Regions from separate parts of the Homo sapiens genome. Here region 2 is linked to region 1. The links are contacts of gene promoters, found by promoter capture Hi-C in blood cells and fetal thymus (Javierre and others, 2016). All regions are on one chromosome and are shown on one strand. The core of a region is centred on a gene start or on the middle of the fragment in contact, and the rest is flanking DNA. Distances in the headings are between cores, read along the strand shown. Region 1 holds the start of MSANTD4 (Myb/SANT DNA binding domain containing 4 with coiled-coils). Region 2 overlaps CARD16 (caspase recruitment domain family member 16).

The links. Contacts are between HindIII fragments. The CHiCAGO score rates a contact against its expected background, and 5 or more counts as called.
Region 2: a fragment that was not itself captured here is called in contact with the fragment with the promoter of MSANTD4 in region 1 in 1 of 17 cell types (non-activated CD4 T cells); the score reaches 7.4 in non-activated CD4 T cells.

What each region holds. Positions count from the first base shown.
Region 1 is chr11:106,019,345-106,023,722 of GRCh38, forward strand. MSANTD4 (Myb/SANT DNA binding domain containing 4 with coiled-coils) reads right to left here and starts at 2,896. Exons shown (of 3, transcript NM_032424.3): 1 at 1,618-2,896. RefSeq lists enhancers at 2,418-2,537, 3,368-3,437 and a silencer at 2,868-2,977. The HindIII fragment of the contact is 3,155 bases long and covers 1,691-4,378 here.
Region 2 is chr11:105,037,944-105,042,173 of GRCh38, forward strand. It overlaps CARD16 (caspase recruitment domain family member 16), which reads right to left. Exons shown (of 4, transcript NM_052889.4): 4 at 3,620-3,776. Among named protein-coding and RNA genes, the nearest start is that of CASP1, 4.9 kb to the left of the region's middle. The HindIII fragment of the contact is 3,609 bases long and covers 101-3,709 here.

The DNA.
Region 1 (4,378 bases), core at 1,646-4,145:
AAGTGAGTATTTTATTTAACCCAATATATCCAAAATGTTATTTTGAAATATAATCAATATAAACAATTATTGAGATATTTACATTCAATAATGTAAGGCTACTGGCTACCATACTGGAACAGCACAACTCAAGCCATCATGGTCCCTGACCTTGGACTATCACACATATATTTCCCCAGGTCATCTTCCCCATTTCCATGGTGTCTGCCTTTTCGTCAGGCCAATGCCTACTCATCCTTCAGCACTCTTGTTTAAATGTCTTCTGTTCCAGGATCTCTTCACTGTTCCCATTCACCTAAGTCTGATGTCCTCCCTATGTGCTTCCACTATCAGCTTTATTACACCACTGATTTACATTAGGAGCAATAAGAGATCAGATACGAATATATTATTCCTGCTATCAAATAATTTGCAACTTAGTAAAACACAGATGCATAAAAAAAGTACATAAACAAATTGTAATGAAGTCTGTAACCTGAAGGTTGTGAATACAGACTACCTAAGGCTGTATGCCAATTCCACCACTTAACTAGCTCTGTGATCTCCAGCGAATTACTTAACCTCTTAAACTTGTTTCTTCATCTATAAATGGGAATAATAGACTAATACTCGTGATGTTTTGAAGATTAAAAGAGATAAACCGATTAAGAAGTTTATCATGCCTAAGACATAGTAAGCCCACAAATGTCAGCTATTATCCATTGCCCAGTACAGTATCTGAATGTAATTAACAAATATTTCTTCACTGGATGAATAATGCAAATATACAAAAACTACAATAAAGAAATACTAACAAAATACTCTGGATATTCATAAGAAAGACAAATCTTTGATGGGATCAAGGAATGTTTTGAGTCAGAATCAGCATTTGATTTGGGTCTTATAAAACAGACTAATGAGGGACAGAAATAAAAGAAAGAAGTATCAGGAATTAAAGCTGGAAAATTAGGATAGTGCCAAGCAGCAAATCTTACTAAGCGAATTCTGGCTTAATAAGACTATTATTTGCTAAAAATGAACTGAAAGAGACAAATATAACTGTGAAAGTTTTTTGAAATTCAAGCAGGCTACCATTAATATGGAAGAACTGTTACTGTAGTAACATATAAATATATAACCAATATAAGTATATAATAAAAATGATTGAAGTTGTCGAGAGTCCAAATTTATGCAGATATCCACCGTAAGATTTTGCTCTTAGAATCTGAGATCAATTTAGAAATCGCATTGTTGTAAATGTATTGGTACATGGTAGAAATAGCAGTCCTTTTGAAGTACCACTGAGTCAATATATTTTTAAAGTTTGACAGCAGCTGTTGCTATTTGCAGGGCCTATTTTTGACCAACAATTCCTAACTCCATATCTCTAACTTACAAAGTGGTATCCCGTTGTCCTGACTGATCTATTCTGAACTGATGAACTATTTCATTTAATCAAATGGGCTTTAATACATTTTTAACCTGACTGAAATTGATATTGGGATGCACCTTAGATACCCAGTCTTGGCTTAATTGTGTGAAAATCTTCTTCTAAAACCTTGATATTTTCTGATTAAGTGCAAGAAAGTGCCAGCATTGATGCATCTTGAGTTGTTGAAGTTCTGTAGATATGCTTACCTGGATAAAAGCCATTTCCAGAAATGTTTGTCTTCCTGTCCTCTCCTTTATATGCCGGTATCCAAGTAACAGAAGCTTGGGTTTTCTACCATCCATTCATTCCCCAATAATTTCCTCAAAAAATACTTACTGAGCTCCTACTGTGTGAAAGGCACTATTTTTGGTGCTGGGGATATAACACCTCATAAAATGTGAAAATATGTCATTTTAGATGTCAAACACTATCCCTTTTCTATTGCCTGTCATCGCTCTCTTAGCAGAAAGGATTCAACAGCTGCAGTCTCTAAAACTTACAAACCTTCTATGCCCAATCACAGAGAACAGCCATTTTCTAAAATCCCATTTCACAATCGTTCTTCACTAGTTGGAAACAGGAATGAGATGTAGTTCACTTACGTAATCCTTGTGAAGATGATGTACTGCCAATGGCATAATATAACCAGGCAACTTTTTACAAGCACTAAAACTTGAGAATGAAGTTCCTAGATACTTCATGATAAGTCAGAATTAAGAAGTCTGAGAAAAACCAGACGGCAAGTTCCGGATCAAAAAAATTTGAGGGTAAATTAGTTAAGCAGTTCAAGAAGAAAAGCATCACAAATCTACAATATCAAACCCTACCCAAATTCTCTTTAAAGTGTGGCTTTCCCCTCCCCTATATTCTTATAGGGGATTCACTTCCCTGCCAAAAAGTATGTTCTTCTCTAAAACTCGTGGTAGGTGCATAACAAGTATACTTATGGGTCGACGGTTATCAAAGTATCTTTCACCTCCCTCCCGCTGCCTCCTTTGGGACCGTCCAAAAAGAGCCCCTGGGAAGAATCGAGTTAGACTGGGCTCCCGGAAGGCCACCCAGGGGAGCAGGGGCGCGCACCTGCCTCGGCCACAATGATGAGGTTGCTGCTGGTAGGAGTCCCGGTGGGAGTCGGGGCAACCTGGAAGATCTCCTCTCTCTGGGTATTAAATGAGAGTCCCGACTGAGTGCCCAGAAACTTCTGCAGTCTTGTTTCCGTGGCCTGGGCCCTCCCCAGCCTCCCCGGTCAGGCGACAGACGCGCGTGGCACTTCTCCCGAGCGTGCAGTCCCGCTACGTCGCAGCCCTTGGACCAAACCCGGCAGCAAGCGTTGCGCCAATTGCCGCTGACCCCTCCGGGACCCTACCCACTGCGAGGGCACCCACTGGTCACGGAGCCGCCGCTTCCCTGGCCGCCTCCTCCAGCATAGAACCGCTCACCTGCGACCCCGGCGGCACCTCCCCACGGTCGCCCCAAGGGGGGTAGGAAAAAAGATGCTTCATTGATCCCCCGCCCACTAACTGGGCCCGCCCATCTCCCGCCACCCCAATGGCTCATATGGCTGCCGCTCATTTGATGAGTCTCATCCATTGGTTAGAATGGTGTAGCCATTCTGGCTGAGAGCCCGCCCTAGGCCTGGCCTCACAATGGGAATCAAGTCCCAAACCGGTTCCGGGTTAGTGCCCTGGAATTCCGCCCCCTCGTGATTCACCTCCCTGTCTGTGCCCCGTCTGTGGCGCGCAGCTCTGTCAGTCAAGTGGACTCTAGGAAGGGATTGGCCCCTAGAGATCCGCTTGCTGCGCTGTTCCAACTGATTGGGGCACTGGCCGCTGCATCTCCAAACTCGTCTCTTGTCCTTGACCCTCACCTGTTAAAAGGGCAAAGAAGAAGTAGGAAACTTGTGCTGCTCCAGTCGGGTTCTTAGGCCAGCATCACCTTCTCCTCGACCAGCTGCGACCTAATTGGCCTCAGCCATTCCTCTAAGGCTGCCCGTGCCAAAGGTCGCTGGTGACTTCCTTATGGCTAAATCTAGGAGTCACTTCTTAGTCCTTATCATACTATATACTTCCCAGAAGACATTTGAATTTTTTTTTTTTTTTTTTTTTTTTTTTACCATTCTTCACTGTTTCCCCAAATATGTGCTTCTGCTTTCTTCTCTCCCAGTCCTCCTCTATATTCAAGTTTGCAGTTGCTTATTTTCTGCCGTCTCACGTTCAGGTGTTTGTGATTAGTGCACCTTTCTTCCCGCTGCCTCTGTCCAGGCCTCTGTGGACTCACCTGAATTCCATCAGTAGCCTCCTAGCTGGTCTCCCAACATCCTGTCTGCCGGACTGTAGTTCATTCTTCACGTTGTAGCCAAAATGAGCTGCTTAAAGTTTTTTAGTGGAATCTCACCACTGGTGATACAGTACAAACTCCTTATCGAACCTGAAAAATAAGGCACCTACTTTTCCCTCAACCTTCATCTCTCGACATTATACCCACATTTCTTCTTCCTTACCCCATTCCCTTTGCTTCTTTCAGTTCCTGAACTCTACAGTGGCTACTGGGAAGTCAGTTTGCATTGCTGTGTTTCCTCCCTGCTTCTCCGCTATGCCTAGCATTCATTTTTAGAAATTCCTTTCTAAAGGAAGGCTTCCAAAATTATCTCCATTCACCCTCCCTCCACTTCCAAGTATTCCCTTCCCTGTAGGTTTGCCAGATAAAAACAGGACGCTCAGTTAAATTTGAAGTTCAGATAAAAAGCAAATAATTTTTAATCTGTCCAATGGAATATTTGGTATCCATATGTTTATTTGCTAAATTTAAAAAAATAAAAATTTTTGTTTACTAAATCTGCAAGCCTACTTCAGCGAGCTCTCATCACGGCCTTTCCTCTGACAGCACTTCCCACATATTTTATGTGGGTGGGGCTTTTCTTGTTTACTGTTGTGAATAACACAGTGCCTAGAATGTAACAGACAAAAA
Region 2 (4,230 bases), core at 655-3,154, 980 kb before region 1:
ACTGCAAAGCCACGAGGGTGGAGCTGCCCAAGGCCATGGGACCCCGACTCTTGCATCAGCATGACCGAGATATGAGACATGGAGTCAAAGATCATTTTGAAGCTTTAAGATTTGGCTGCCCTACTGGATATTGGACTCGCATGGGGAATGTAGCCCCTTCCTTTGGCCAATTTCTCCCATTTGGAATGGGTGTATTTACCCAATGCCTGTATCCCCGTTGTATCTAGGAAGTAACTAACTTGCTTTTGATTTTACAGGCTCATAGGTGGAAGGGACTTGCCTTGTCTTAGAGAAGACTTTGGACTTGGACTTTTGGGTTAATGCTGGAATGAGTGAAGACTTTGAGGAACAGTTGGAAGGCAGGATTGGTTTTGAAATGTGAGCACATGACATTTAGGAGAGGCCAGGGGCAGAATGACAGAGTTTGGCTCTGTGTCCCCACCAAAACCTCACCTTAAATTGTAATAATCCCCTGGTGTCATGGGAGGCACCTGGTGGGAGGTAATTGAATCATGGAGGTGGGTTTTTCCCATGTTGTTCTCATGATAGTGAAAAAGTCTCATGAGATCTGATGGCTTCATAAAGGGGAGTTCCCCTGCACATGCCTTTTTGTCTGCTTCCATGGAAGATGTGTCCTTGCTCCTCTTTTGCCTTCCACCATGATTGTGAGGCTTCCCCAGCCATGTGGAACTATGAGCCCATTAAACCTCTTTTTTTCTTTATAAATACCCAGTCTTGGGTATGTCTTTATTAGCAGCATGAGAACAGACTAATACACCTGGTATGTAATATGTAACTGGAATATTCAGACTGTTCAAATGTAGCAAGTGATGAGAATGATAAAAAAAAAATTGGCAAAGTAGGAGACAAAATATTGCAGGACTCATGAACTTTAGACAGAGGAGCCAGGGAAGGCCAGAAAAGGTCTCTGCCTTTGCAATCACATGTTCAATTGCTTATCCCAGAAACAAACTCAATGTGGCTAATTTATTTTATAAATCTATTTGATGAAAGGTGGGCTAATTGCAAAATGCACACGGTATGTTACGTTTATCAAATTCTTTACCAAAAATTCTCCTGATTTGTTACCTTAATATTTTTGGAGATTAAAGACCCAGAGTTAGAAAAACATCCACCTTTTGACATGTGGGCTACCAGTTTTATTTTCTGTGCTCTAGGTGAAGGGTTAAATGTGTTTGGGTTTGACTAGAACTCACTGTGTAGGAGGACATCGTTTTTTTTTTTTATTTTTTATTTTTTGACAGAGTCTCGCACTGTCACCCCACTGGAGTGCAATGGTGCCATCTCCGCCTCCCGGGTTCATGTGATTCTCCTGCCTCAGCCTCCCAAGTAGCTGGAATTACAGGCACCACCACACCTGGCTAATTTTTTGTATTTTTACTAGAGATGGGGTTTCACTATGTTCACCAGACTGGTCTCAAACTCCTGACCTCGTAATCTGGCCACCTTGGCCTCCCAAAGTGCTGGGATTATAGATGTGAGCCACCATGCCCAACCTCTCATGGTGTTTTATCTTTACTTTGCCAATGACTTAATCCGATGGCAGCACAAACTTGTGCTCCTTGCCACTGGGAGGATTTGTAGCATGGAAGAAAGCAGAAATTGCCTGTGTATTACTTATCTTCCCATCATGTACTTTTAAATGATTCAATTTTTTTTCTATTAACTAAAGTATTTCACATGAGGGTTTCGCCCACAGCCAGAGCCATGAACCACTGAGTTGAAGCATGTCAGAGTGACATCCCAGAAACAGAAGCCATGACTAGACCATATATCTGGGAATGTAGAACCATAAGCCTTGAGTCTCATGTCATGGAAAGCTAAACACTGAGCCACTAGATTGCAAGGGCCCACTGTTTCCTCAAAAATGAAGATGTCAAAAACTGGAAACAAATAAATATCCAATTCCAGAGCATAAAATAACAATTTGTGCTATACATGTACACTGAAATGCTATTCAGTCATGAAAGGGAAAAATTACTAATATATGCAATAACATGGATGAAAAAAATATGTTTCAATTATGAGTGAAAGAAGCCATATAGGAAGGAACACATACCCTGTGATTCCAATTATATAAAGTTCTAGATTAGGAAAAACTAACGTACAGTGATAGAAATTCGATGACTACTTATCTGAGGAGGAAGTGGAAGGAGATTGATAACAATGGGCGTGACAAAACTTTCTGGGGTGACAAAATCGGTTTGCCTATTCACTAGGATGTTATTATACTAGAATAGCCATGTATCATTAGTTATCAACTTGTATTCTTAAAAGGAGTACATTTTCTTTGACGTAAATTATACAAAAATAACATTAAAATTTTGAAGCGAAAATGGTCAGTGGTTGTAATAATATATATTTTTTTGTTGATTTCTGGCTGGACACACTCCACAAATTTGTAAAAATTTTGGTAAGAGGAAGTTGTTCTTATAGTGACTGAGTTGTAATTACCAACCACCCAAGTTGGATGGGGAATTGTAGACAGAGTGGATATAATTTATAGGAACCAAATTGTTGACTTAAATGTGTACTTGGAAAATAGAATTACAAAGGTAAAATCATCTCAAAATAAATGAATGTAACAATTCTATTATAAGTAATATTTTAAATGTGCATAATGTTATAAAATCCTGTCAGTGTGAAGTCTGGGAAACAATATAATTTTAAATGACAGAGTAGGTACTGTAAAAATCTCTGACATAGAAGGCAGACAATTCTGTGCTTGGGTTTTGGCCATCCCATTTCCAAGCCTTAGAAGTTCATGGACACTTTCAGTTTATCCAACTCTTCTTAGTTATATTTTTGGACTATCAGCACATTTTGTGTAATACAACTTAGAGCACTAATCAACTATTACATGTTATTTTATTTTTTCTTTGTCTAAAAGCCTCTTTCTTTCTGCCCGGTTTATCAGTGTGGACTTTGGCATCTAATAGCCCTAGGGTCAACTTCTATTTATGAGCTGTAGATCTTAACCAAGTTATTTAACATCTCCCATCCTCCGTGTTCTCATGTATAGGAGGGGCCTCATTATCATTCTTACCTTCTAAGATGCAATGCCTGGTGTAGAGAGCATGCCACTATACCTCTCATTTATAGTAGTCATAAGCTATAGCCCAGAAGCAAGGTAATGTTAAAATGTACTTTTTGGTAAAGTGCTTCTAAATTATTCATATGCTTCATTTCAATATGTTAAATAAACATTAATTTCATTTTATGAATAGGAACAACAGGTAAAAAACTGACTCCAATTCTTGGTAAACACAAGTTGGAGAATTGGGTGAGAAGCAAGAGTCCACTTCAATACTTGCTCAATGGGATGTGCTTTTTTCCAACTGGGCACTACACTGGAAAATCTGGGTTATACAAGCAGACAAAATGGCTTGTTTGTGTCAGTGGGAAATAAATTCTAAGAGACAGACTGGGTGAAGACTATGATAATTTATGAGTTCCAGTTTGCAACTCTTTACCTAAACCTGGGATTCTAGGATATAGAGATCCTTTATGCAAGGGGAGCAGAAGTATGTTCCTCCAGAACCGCTCAATAAAATTGGTTCTAAGAAAAAGCCACTGCATTTCAAAACTGCCTGAAGTATATCTTTCACTCCACTTTATTATTGTATTCTGAACATGGCACCTCTGCAACTTTTGTTTCCATATCCTTTGAGCGTCTTCTAGAAAGCAAAGCTTGATTCTGCCTTCTGGGCTTGAGCATGTGGGCATAGCTGGGTTGTCCTGCACTGCCTGAAGAGCTGCAAGAGACAAGGAATATCATGAACAGTGGTATCCCTCTTTGTTCTTATAGCCTCACCTATGGAGGAAGCTACAAAAGAGGAAATACATTCCTAGAGGACAATCCTAATCTAGTCATTAACATAGTTGAGTGCGTTTGCTGCTAATGGAGCACATTTCAAGCCAGAGATTTCTAGGTATGCATTACAGGGAGGATCTACTTTCATATTTGAGCATAAGTATTTCTACAAGCATCTTAGATAAAAACAGAGAGGAAGCTTTTCAAGGCCATGCATGATAAAACACTCAGGAAACAGTCAATGAGTGATATAAAATAGTTAAAATATGATTTGTTTTCAAAGGATTCAAACCCTAGGATAAAATTTAATGGGAGCAGGTCTTAATTAACACTAATTAATTTTTAAAATATGTGTTTATCCTTTTATTTATTTACCTAATAGACATGGTAGTAAA